Regions from separate parts of the Homo sapiens genome. Here all the other regions are linked to region 4. The links are contacts of gene promoters, found by promoter capture Hi-C in blood cells and fetal thymus (Javierre and others, 2016). All regions are on one chromosome and are shown on one strand. Each heading gives the region's core, a stretch centred on a gene start or on the middle of the fragment in contact. The rest is flanking DNA. Distances are from core to core; before and after follow the strand shown.

The links. Contacts are between HindIII fragments. The CHiCAGO score rates a contact against its expected background, and 5 or more counts as called.
Region 1: a contact is called between a fragment that was not itself captured here and the fragment with the promoter of SOX17 in region 4, in 1 of 17 cell types (endothelial precursors). The highest score is 7.1, in endothelial precursors.
Region 2: a fragment that was not itself captured here is called in contact with the fragment with the promoter of SOX17 in region 4 in 4 of 17 cell types (endothelial precursors, megakaryocytes, M1 macrophages and 1 more); the score reaches 25.3 in endothelial precursors.
Region 3: a contact is called between a fragment that was not itself captured here and the fragment with the promoter of SOX17 in region 4, in 2 of 17 cell types (endothelial precursors and megakaryocytes). The highest score is 14.5, in endothelial precursors.

What each region holds. Positions count from the first base shown.
Region 1 is chr8:54,099,230-54,102,012 of GRCh38, reverse strand. LYPLA1-TCEA1 (LYPLA1-TCEA1 readthrough) reads left to right here and starts at 66. Exons shown (of 21, transcript NM_001425842.1): 1 at 66-258; 2 at 1,074-1,105. LYPLA1 (lysophospholipase 1) reads left to right here and starts at 66. Exons shown (of 9, transcript NM_006330.4): 1 at 66-258; 2 at 1,074-1,105. The coding sequence starts at 190. RefSeq lists a silencer at 1-512. The HindIII fragment of the contact is 1,126 bases long and covers 731-1,856 here.
Region 2 is chr8:54,174,411-54,177,526 of GRCh38, reverse strand. No RefSeq gene overlaps it. Among named protein-coding and RNA genes, the nearest start is that of MRPL15, 41 kb to the right of the region's middle. The HindIII fragment of the contact is 5,152 bases long and covers 1-3,116 here.
Region 3 is chr8:54,153,064-54,156,023 of GRCh38, reverse strand. No RefSeq gene overlaps it. Among named protein-coding and RNA genes, the nearest start is that of MRPL15, 19 kb to the right of the region's middle. The HindIII fragment of the contact is 2,897 bases long and covers 128-2,960 here.
Region 4 is chr8:54,456,328-54,459,184 of GRCh38, reverse strand. SOX17 (SRY-box transcription factor 17) reads right to left here and starts at 1,250. Exons shown (of 2, transcript NM_022454.4): 1 at 740-1,250; 2 at 1-127. The coding sequence starts at 1,046. The HindIII fragment of the contact is 4,543 bases long and covers 1-2,857 here.

The DNA.
Region 1 (2,783 bases), core at 44-2,543, 360 kb after region 4:
GGCGAGGGGCAGGGCAGGGCGGACCCTGGACGCGCGGGCGCGCGCGGAAGGTAGCGCGGGGCCGCGTTGGCGCGCACGCGCCTGAGCGTGCGCCCGGTGGGGCCGGCCGGGACTCGCCGCTCGCACGCCCTTGGGCCGCGGCCGGGCGCCCGCTCTTCCTTCCGCTTGCGCTGTGAGCTGAGGCGGTGTATGTGCGGCAATAACATGTCAACCCCGCTGCCCGCCATCGTGCCCGCCGCCCGGAAGGCCACCGCTGCGGTGAGTGGCGTAGGCGTGGGCTCGGAGGGGTCCACTGGGCCGGCCACCGGTGGTTGCCCCTCGCGCGGGGTGGGCGTTGCGGGCGCGTGGCGGCCTGCGGACGAGGACGCTCCTCCCGGCCCGGGTGGGGTGCGAATGGTCCGCGCGGCCGGGTCCGCGGGGGGCGGGGGCAGCCGGGGGGTCACAGCCGGCGCGAGGGCCAGTCCCCAGCTCCTCCCTGCATTGCGGAGGAAGTGTGGCCCCGGGACCCCCGCGGGCCGGCCTAGGGCACGGCGTCAGCCTCTGCAGCGTGTTTCTGCCTGGTGTGTGGGTGAGGGAAACCTAAGTCCGCCAGGAAATCGCCTTATTGTCACCTCGCACTCTTATCCTCAATGAAAGAAGTTTGAAGATTGAGTGTCCTACAAGGTCAGACGTACTGTTTTTTAGAAAACTCGTGTATGAAAAGTCAAACTTATTTTTGCCTCCGGAAGCTTGCTTTTGCAGTGGAAAAATTCTACAGGATATGTGAGATGTTCCTGATTTCACTTGAAAGAGATAAACTGTTTTTCTTAGAATGTGATCATTTGCACTCAATGTCTAACTGGGACCTCTCAGTGCTACCCCCCCCCCATTCATTATCTCAGGAAATAAAGGGAGAAGTTGATCAGAATTTTTGCCATTTAAAAGAGGTCGATAAAGATTAAGTCGCCGAAGATAGTGTTGTGTAATTCTCTCGTAGGTTTCGTTCCGTTTTCCACCTTAAGCAAAGCTAGTGTGTAACAATCCTGTGTGGGCTTATTTAGGCATTGCTTATTAATTTTCCTCTTCTCTTATAGGTGATTTTCCTGCATGGATTGGGAGATACTGGGTAGGTACCATTATTATTAATAGTAACAGTAATGAAACTGGGTCATGCAACTTTTGTTTACGCGTTCAAAGGTTTAATGTTTAAGGGCGCTAAAATGGTATTTTAAGATTGCCAGTTAATGTATCTTACAGTGCGGTGATTTTATGTTTTGAAAACCCTCAGAATTTTCCCCTTATCATCGTGAGTTTATTGATTTTTTAACTCTGGTTTCTGGAACATATTAAAATTTCAAATTCCTCATTAGTTGCTTTGGGTATTGGATACCAGAGATCCGTGGAATGTTAGTAGGGACGGTGTGCAATTGAGAGCTTTCCAGAGCAGTTAAAATTTCAGAGCAGATTGAAGAGAAGAACTAGTTGATTTTGATAAGAGAACTAGTGGCAACATAAGGCATGCAGCATTCTGAATAGAGGGATTAGATGTTCACTCTAATGAGTTGAAAGGCAGGGGAGGCAACTCAAAGATTTATTTGGAGGCTTATCAAACAATTTGTTGTACTAACTACTTATTTTTATTTTATTTTTTGTTTGTTTGCTTTTTTCTTTTGTTATTATTTTTAGAGACAAGGGCTCTCTCTGTCGCCCAGGCTGGAGTGCAGTTGCAGGATCTTAGCTCACTGCAGCTTTGAACTCCTGGGCTCAAGTGATCCTTCAGCCTCAGCCTCTCAAAGCACAGAGATTAGAGGTGGGAGCTGCCTGAGCCTGGCCTTTTGTACTAACTTTAGATACATGATTTATCTTTTACTCAAGCTTTTTCTATATTGAGATGTTTTTGTTTTTATATTTAAATTGGTGATAATCTGTGAAACTTAAGCAAAATATGAATGTTGTTGAAAAATTGCAGAAATAGAGGAAAACTGAAGATAAATAAATTTTGATAAAGTAGCCCCAGAACGACTAAATTTTCTTTAAAATGAACCATTGGGGCCGGGCGCGGTGGCTCACACCTGTAATCCCAGCACTTTGGGAGGCCGAGGTGGGTAGTTCACTTGATGTCAAGAGTTCGACACCAGCTTGGCCAATATGGTGAAACCCCATCTCTACTAAAAATATAAAAATTACCCGGGTGTGGTGGTGCATGCCTGTAATCCCAGCTGCTAGGGAGGCTGAGAGAAGAGAATCACTTGAACCTGGGAGGCAGAGGCTTCAGTGAGCCAAGATTGCACGACTGCACTCCAGCCTGGGCCACAGAGTGAGACTCAAAAAAAAAAAAAATGCCATTAGGCTAGATTTTTGTTTGTTTGTTTGGAGACAGGGTCTGCTGTGTTGCCCTGGCTGGAGGGCAGTGGCGTGATCTTGACTCACTGCAACCTCCACCTTCTGGGTTCCTGGGTCTCCCGAGTAGCTGGGACTACAGTTGCTTGCCACCATGCCAGCTAATTTTTGTATTTTTAGTAGAGACAGAGTTTTGCCATGTTGGTTACGCTGGTCTCGAACTCCTGACCTCAAATGATCCACCCACCTGAGCCTCCCAAAGTGCTGGGATTACAGGCGTGAGCCACCACTTAAAAGTGATTCCTATTTTTTGCCTAATAAGTCGAGTTATGTAATACAAACTTTGTATGGAGTTACAGAAAAGGTTGCAGCACTCTTTCTGGCAATCCAGTGGTCCTGTGAAAATGATGAACTTATTTTACCAAATGAAACTCGAATAGCAGAATCTCTATTTTATGGCCAAA
Region 2 (3,116 bases), core at 521-3,020, 280 kb after region 4:
ATTGCTTAAACCCAGGAGGCAGAGGTTGCAGTAAACCAAGATTGCACCACTGCACTCCAGTCTGGGCAACAGAGCAAGACTCTGTCTCAAAAAAAAAAAAGAAACAAAAGAAGAGAGAAGCCAGAGCACGTGGTGATCAACCATCAGAGCTGGTGCACACTTAAGACACCTACAGTCCTCTTGCATCAGGTAAGGGCATGGTCCGGGGGAAGAGGAGCCAGCACCTACACGCACAGACACCATTACCAAAGGAAAGACAGCACAGCTGGCGAAACTTTGACTTTCCTCCTCAGTCTTTTAAATAGAGCATTCTACTCCTTAATTTATCCTGTTTTTGTTGTTGTTGTTGTTTATTTTTGTTTGTTTTTGTTTTTTTGAGATGGAGTTTGCTCTTGTTGCCCAGGCTGGAGTGCACTGGTGCGACCTCAGCTCACTGCAAGCTCTGCCTCTCGGGTTCAAGCGATTCTCCTGCCTCAGCCTCCCGAGTAGCTGGGATTGCAGGCATGCGCCACCATGCCCGGCTAATTTTGTATTTTTAGTAGAGACGGGGTTTCTCCATGCTGGTCAGGCTGGTCTTGAACTCCCGACCTCAGGTGATCCGCCCGCCTCGACCTCCCAAAGTGCTGGGATTACAGGCATGAATATGCTCATCCATATTCTAAGCAAGGGCTCTTGCCCATACACCTGGCTGCCCCTTCTACCTAGCTTATGGCTTTGACCTCATGACTTTCACTTGTCCCCTTTGGTCAATGTTTCCCATTCATATGATCAGTCTCCCCAAGGAACTAATAAGCTCCTCTCCCTTTTGTAAAACAGGACCTAATGCTTTGGTTAGACTTGAGTTTTCCCAGGTTCGTGTGTGTGTGTCTGTGTGTGTGTGTGTGTATGTATGTGTCTATGTACGGGTTCTCTCACACACACACCACCGTGGGGGGTCTAGAGCCCTTACCAGGCTTTCTGTAAAAAGCTAATGGCTGACCGGGTGCGGTGGCTCATGCCTGTAATCCCAGCAATTTGGGAGGCTGAGGTGGGCTGATCACCCGAGGTCAGGAGTTCCAGACCAGCCTGGCCAACATGGTGAAACCCCATCTCTACTAAAAATACAAAAATTAGCCGGGTGTGGTGGCACATGCCTATAATCTCAGCTAGTCGGGATGCTGAAGCACGGGAATCGCTTGAACCTGGGAGGTGGAGGTTGCAATGAGCCGAGATGGCGCCACTGTGCTCCAGCCTGGGCAACAGAGCGAGACTCAGTTTCAGTTAAAAAAAAAAAAAAGGTCACGGCAGCTAGGACCAGCTGCAGTTGGAGCAGGCAGCTGCCCTCCCAGGGCCATTCCTGTTCCCTACAGCCCCACAGGCCCTCTCTCCCCTAGGGGTCGAGTAGGAGACCAGTGCTATAAGCAGGAAACAGAGTTACACACATCTTTGGCACCACCCATGACAGAGCCCGGACTGGATTCATCACAGTTCTCCTAACGGCTTCCGCGTATGAGGCGTGAACTTCACCATCTCCATCTTGATTTTGACCTGTTTCTACGGGAACTGGGATCACAGGCAGGACTTTGCAGCACAACGCTGGCACCGATTTCACCTTTTCTGGGTGAAATACAGATTTGGTTGAACGACGGTCGCTTTCACTGCCTCCGGCTGAGGATTTGGTAGGGGCTCCTTTCAAGGCCACAGGTGTGGGTGACCCAGCCCCACCTCAAGCGGGCATGAAAGTACAGGCCGTGGAACCCGTCCGACCAAGGGTGATGAAAAGGGAAGTAGTGGGCACCATAGACACATGATTCCAGACCCCTCTTCATCCAGATTGTGGCTTGAGCCCTCAGCAATGATGTGGTTCCCATCCCTGCATCCCACACCGCAGCCCCAGGGCTCTCCCTGCCCAGGCAGCGCCGTCTGTGGCAAAGGCACACAGCGCAGATTGTAGGGTTTGGGGCTGGGCCAAGACCTACCAGGCTTCGCAACAGCGACTGGCAGCGGCTCCCTGCTACACGGGGCTTACTCCCCCAGCTCTGCCGGGGGCTCCACTCCCAAGCGGCTCCCCGTTTTCCTTCACTCACGGTGTCTCCTTTCCCCGGATTCCTGGGTTCAACCTTGATTTTCACCCATTGTCTCGCTTCCTCCTAGCCAGCCTTCTAACCCCACCGAACTGCTGCGCATTGACATTTACAAACGCACGCTTTAGGTAGAATAAACCGGCACCGCCCTATTCCCTACAGAATGTTCAGGAAGGATCTAGACAAGGGGACCCAGGCAGTCCCCGGGCCTGAAGGACGCAACTGGGAACCGGAGTGGAGTAACCCGGGTGCAGCGCCAGGCCACAGCCTGTAAACCTTTCTAAAATTACTCTCTCATCAAGGGTCTCTGAGGCCCTCACCTTCGAAAATTTCAGGTCAACAAGATGGCGTCTGAGCACTTACTTGGTGCCAGGCATAAAATAGCCCAGATCCCGGCCCTGGTGGACTCCGCATAACGAGGACGGCAGACAGAAATCAAATAACTATAAAAATAAACTTTAAAGTGTCTGAAGTGCTCCAGAGGAAAACTCAAAGGGCTCTAAAAGCAAATAACACATCCTGGGTATGTGATGGCATGAACTTTCCCAACAGCCCGGGAGTTTAGCCTGGTTAAGGAAGTGGCACCGTTATGCCTGCGGGGAATCGCCCTGAAGCGTGGGTGCGGGCGCAGCGGGGCTGCGGGAGGCCCCGGCATCACACAGCCCACAGGCTCCGGGAAAACGCAAGAGCGGAGGCGACCGCTTAGGCCCCGGCTCTCACCCCCGTCCTGGTAAATTGATGCAGCCCTGCCTGCTGCCACCATTCAATACGCCTGGTGTCTTCCGCAGCAGCAGAAAAACTGACCCTGGAGAATTTAAGCAGAAAAGTATTCCCTGCATTTCTCAAACAACCTGGAAAGACGCGAGAACTGCGCTCAGAAAACTGCAAGAAATGCGGCAGCCCAGGTGGGAGGAGTCCAGCCAAAATCACAGCAGAAGCGGAAGCCGGTGAGTAATGCTCGCGGGGCCCCCTAGCTCAGCGCACAGGCCCCAGGGTCAGCCTGTTTCCTTCACTTCTTAGTTTTTTTGTTTGTTTGTTTTCTTTTGATTCGGA
Region 3 (2,960 bases), core at 327-2,826, 300 kb after region 4:
TACTTCTTTCGAGCTAGATGTCCTCATACTAAATACTTGACCTCTCTGTGCCTCAATTTTTTTCAACTATAAAATGGCATAAATAAAAGGGTCTGGTGAGGATTGAATAAGATGAACAGATAAAGCTTTTAAAAACTCCTATATATATGGATGCTCGATAATCATCAGAATTATCTTTATAAAATTTCAAGTACATAGAAGAATATGAAGTCTCTTACATACAAATGGCCAAGAAGCTATTCTCATTCCACATGTTCCACATCATTATTAGTGAAATGCAAATCAAACCCACAATGAGAAACCATTTCGTGCCCACTAGAATGGTTATCATCAAAAATGCAGATAATAACAAATGTTGGCAAGGATGTGAGAAACAGGAACATTCATTTCTTGTGGGGGAGTAACATGGTGCAGCCACTTAGGAAAACAATTTGGCAGTTTCTTTAAAAGTCAAACATGGGCCAGGCATGGTGGCTCACACCTGTAATCCCAGCACTTTGGGAGGCTGAGGCAGGTGGATCACTTGAGGCCAGGTGTTCGAGACCAGCCTAGGCAACATAGTGAAACCCCATTTCTACTAAAAATACAAAAAAATTACGTGGGCTATGGAGGTGCGCACCTGTAATCCCAGGTACTCAGGAGACTGAGACACGAGAATCGCTTGAACCCGGGAGGCAGAGGTTGCAGTGAGCCAAGATGGTGCCACTGCACTCCAGCCTGGGTGACACAGTGAGACACTGTCTCAAAAAAAAAAAAAAAAGTTAAACATAAATTTGCTAATCTACTCAGCAATTCCACTGCTAAATATATTCCCAAGAAAAAGAAAAACATGTTCACATAAAGACTTGCAAACATATGTTTACAGTAGCATTATTTATAATAGCCCCACCATGGAAACAATCCACATGTCCACCAACTGATGAATGCATACACACTCCACACGATGGAAAGCTAGTTGGCCATAAAAAAGAATGAGGTACTGGAACATGCCACCACATGGATAACTTTCAAAACATTATGCCAAGTGAGGTCGAGCATGGTGGCTCACGCCCATAATGCCAGCACTTTGGGAGGCTGAGGCAGGTGGATCATGTAAGGTCAGGAGTTCAAGACCAGCCTGACCAAAATGGTGAAACCCTGTCTCTACTAAAAATATAAAATTAGACGGGTGTGGTGGCAGGTGCCTATAATCCCAGCTACTCAGGAGGCTGAGGCAGGATAATCACTTGAATCCAGGAGGCGGAGCTTGCAGTGAGCTGAGATCACACCACTGCACTCCAGCCTGGCGACAGAGCGAGACTCTGTCTCAAAAAAAAAAACTTGATTTATGAACACTTACAGAGGCACTTATGTGTCAGGCATTATGGTAAGTGCTTTACAAATATTGACTTCTTTCAATCTTCATACCCATATGCATTAGGATTAATCATCCCCCATTTTTCAGATGGTGAGACTGAGGCAGAGATATTAAGTAACATATCAAGGTCACACAGCTAGTCTTGGCATCTGAGCCCAAGTAAACTGCTCCAGGTGGCTCTGCAAACTGGCTGAGCTTCGTGTCTCCCCGCAAATAACCTCACTGGGTCTCCCAAACACAGAAGCACAGAGGTGGGTATGATTATCTCCATTTCACATGTGAGACAGATGAGAGCACAGCAGTTATGTGATGTGCCCGAGGTCACACAGCTGCTGTCAGAGCCTGGATTCAAATCCAGGTTTGGTGACATGGAAGCTGTGCTACTTCAACCATGCTATGTCTTTTCAGTAAAGCATCAAAATGCAGCCATTCTGGGATCTGTGCGAACATCAGAGAGCGCACTTTTTTCTCTGACACGAACTAAATTGGGTTACACTGCTGTTATCTGACATCTTCCCCGGCTATGGTAGAGCCACTCTCATTGTCAAAGAACAGAGAGTAGCATTTTTAAAAAAGAAAACCCGGGAACTCAATAGACAGGAAATCCCTAGCAATTATTTCTCTAAGGAGTTAAAAAAATATTTTAAAATCCATATTAACTCAATGGATTGGATGCAAACTAGCCACATATACTGGAAGCCACATACCACGAGAGGACTAAAATCTAGACTGAAGCATTCTTACTTTTATTCTTAGATTTCCAAGTAATATGAACCCTTAACAAGATAACAATACCATCTGCTAGCACACTCTCTGCCCCATTATCCTTGTACACGGCTGAAGGGCCATGGTATATCAGCATCATAGAGCCCAGTATTGCTGCGTAGTTACAATGAACTTGAGTCTCCCGGCTATACAGCAATTTGAGGATTAACTTTATTAAACAGAATAGACAGATTTTGTGGAACGTGCCTGTTTTGGCTGAGAACTTATCTGCACGATTCTAATATTGAGACCAGGATACAGCTGTTTGTGACTAAGCCCATGCTCACTGAGTAAGTACTATCTGAGCATTATTCATCACCAGACATCTGTTTCCTGTTTTCTTTCTTTCCTTTATCATTCTTTCCCAATTTCCTTTCACCTGTAGGCCACCTAAGACAACCACAGTGAAGTAAGTCTAATGTTTGACTGTCTCTTTTCCCTTCCGTAACTGTTGTTAGGGTAGTGTAGTCATTCTACTTGGAGGATGGGGGAGGGAACCCAAGGGTCACTCTGAGCCTGGAAGGCTGTTGCCTGTGCAGTCTATCTTTAGGTGACTAACTTCCTCCCTTGTTCCCCATTAAGAACTTTTCCTGTTGAGGCAGTACCAGCCCCTCCAAACATACAATTGTGAACTGAATCACAAATGGAAAACCTCCTGTGGCACAAATAAGGCAAGGCAGTAACTTACCTAAAGCAAAGCCAGTACACTCTGATATGAAAAAAATGGAACCTCTTACATGAATACAGAACACAGGATGTGTTTAAATTTAAGGAAGTTCATTTCTATGCAAATAGGTTGAGGTCAGAGAAGTTTTCCTCAGCCCAAGGGAACATCTTT
Region 4 (2,857 bases), core at 1-2,500:
ACCTGCTTGCGCCGCCGCGGCCGGTACTTGTAGTTGGGGTGGTCCTGCATGTGCTGCACGCGCAGCCGCTCTGCCTCCTCCACGAAGGGCCGCTTCTCCGCCAGCGTCAGCGCCTTCCACGACTTGCCTGCACAGTGGAAGGAAGGGGGAGAGGGGCGCAGGGCTTATCGGCTGCGCTCCCGCTCCAGGCCCCACCTGGCCCCACCTGGACGCACCTCCCCCCTCAGACTTTGAATTGCGCAACCGGGGTGAAGTTAAAGAGGGAGATCTGGGACTCCTGAGTCCGAGCCCTTGGGGAACACCCGTCCTCTAAAGGCACCCCTTTCTTTTGGTCTCCTGGAAGCGGCTTTCCGCTCACCCATCACCCGGTCGTTCGAAAAACAGAAAAGGACACCTAACTAGGGAAGGGGTCGAGGGATGGACACAACCGGCCCAGTTCAGGGCCAAGGGTGCTCTCGCGCCGCCCGGAGGTGCCGGGAAGTCGCCTTCCCAGAGCCGTTGGACCCGCGCCCCCGGCCACCTGGGGAATCCGGGAGCCGGAGAGCAAGGCGGAAAGCTGCTTTGGAGGGTCGGAGGGCGGGAAGCGGGAAGGGAACCCAGAGCCTTAAGAAAGGACGTGGCCGCTACACACCCCTGGTTTTGGGCGTCAGGCTCGCAAAGAACAGTTTGGGGTTTAAGAAATCGGCCTAGCGATTCGCGCCAGCGCGCCCGGCCGCCTGGGTCTGCGACTCGGACTCACCCAGCATCTTGCTCAACTCGGCGTTGTGCAGGTCTGGATTCTGCTGCGCCAGCCGCTTGCGCTCGTCCTTAGCCCACACCATGAAAGCGTTCATCGGCCGCCGGATACGGGACTCGCCCTTGGCTCGGCCCGCGGCCCCGGCCGGTGCTCCGCTGTTCGCCGGCGCCTCGCCCTTCACCTTCATGTCCCCGATGGGGCTCAGCGACTCGGCCCAGGGGCAGGGGCCCAGCCCGGCCATCACCGCGGGCAGCGCGCTCTGGGTCTGGCTCTGGTCGTCACTGGCGTATCCCGCATCCGGGCTGCTCATGGCGCTCCAGGCCTGCCCCGCTCCCCTCAACCCTCCGCCGGACGCGCCGCCTCCCCCGACCCGGGGGAGGGGGTGGGGAGTGAGGCACTGAGATGCCCCGAGGGCTGCGCGGGTCTCCCGGCCCGAAGCCGCCGCCCGTGTTCTGGCCTGTCGCGGTCTGGTCTACAGCGTACCCAGGGCCCCCAGCCGGCCTAGTGACACTGCGGGCGCCCCTGGGCCGCGGGGCCTTTTCTGCACAGATGTGGCCAATGGAGCGGCGAGGGCGGGCCGGTCCCGCGTCGTTAGGCCCACGCCCAGGCCGTGGTCCGAGTCCCACGTCCCAGTCCAACCCCACGCCCGCCCCTTGCCCCTCCCCCGGCCCCGCGCCCAAGGCTACACCTGCCCCCGGGAAAACTAGCCGGAGCTGGGCTCTGGCGCCGCGTCCTCTCCCACCGGGGTTAGGGAGACTCGAAAAGCCGTCTGGGAGGGCTGATTGTACCTTGGAATCGACGTACTTGCCCAAGGTCGTTTAGATGAACATACCGAGCGTCCATTCTATTCTCTTTAAAGCACATCTTTTTGCAGAAGCCGAGGGTGTTTCAGTGGTGGGTGACCTAGTTTACTTCCAAGGAACTGCATGGGCATCTTCAAATGTGTTTTCTCAAATGCGAAAGACACCGTTGATAATAAATTTAAAAATACAATTTTTCCCCCAGGACTCAACTTGCCTGTGTTATATTCAAAATGCTGTGTCCAAGATAAATCCTAATTTTCTAAAGCAAGATTAAATATGGAACGACGTTCTGTATCCAATATTCCTTCACTCTAAAGAATAAAGCATTTACTCATGACAAGCCAACCAGTTTTTATGTGTATCTTATTATACACATCATGTGAAAGTACGAAAATGTATACATGATGTATATAAGATACGCATAACAAAACTGTTTCTCGTATGTGTTCAGTAACAGGTGAGCCTTAATACTGATTTCTAAAATGTAAAGACAGCAGCAATATTTGTCTAAATGTCCGAGTTTGTTTGGGGGAAGAGAACAATCTGTTTTAGCTGCAAAGTAACTGTGGTTCTTACAGTCAGTTTAAAGCGGTTATTCTGGCAGATAATTAGATTTCTATAAGTTTCTTTAGACTGGAATGAAATCTGAATGACTATTAAACTTGTGTTTCGATCTGGAAAAAAAAAAAGTTTTCAGTGGGACTTTTAAAACAAGCCGTTATACAACACTGAGAAATGACACAGCCTGCCACTGCTATTCCTAGCGCCCTCCAGCATTAGCAAAGAAGCATATCCTCATATTAACCCTGAGGTAGACTCTATCTTACAGGAAAGGAAACGGAGGCAGAGAAGTTAAGGAACTTGCTGGAGACTACAGCGTTGAGAAGGTGGAATTCACACCCAGCAGTCCGCCTTCAGACTTGCAGCTCTTAATAATCACTAAGCCAGGCTGTTGTGTTTGTGTATTTGTGTTGGTTTTTGAGGGCAACTAACAGCCATTCCTGCATAATTAGAGATAACTTTGCAAAGAAATCAATATACGAATCTCCAGAACAGATTTTCTTTATTATGAAGGCGTGATAAAAAAGTAGAGCTTACACCTGGAATCTGAGAAGTAAAATGCTGCTGCTTTGAGTGTGATACTACAACAACAAGACCGTCTGTCCAGTCTTGCTTATTAGTGGCATCCATAAAAATACAAAACTTTTGCAAACTCCTGGCCTTCAGTTTCTCTGGCATTGCTTTTTCTCAAAAGAACTCTTACACAATTGTTTTAAGCCAACTTATCTTTAATTCTGCAAGTATCTGTGAAGCCTTG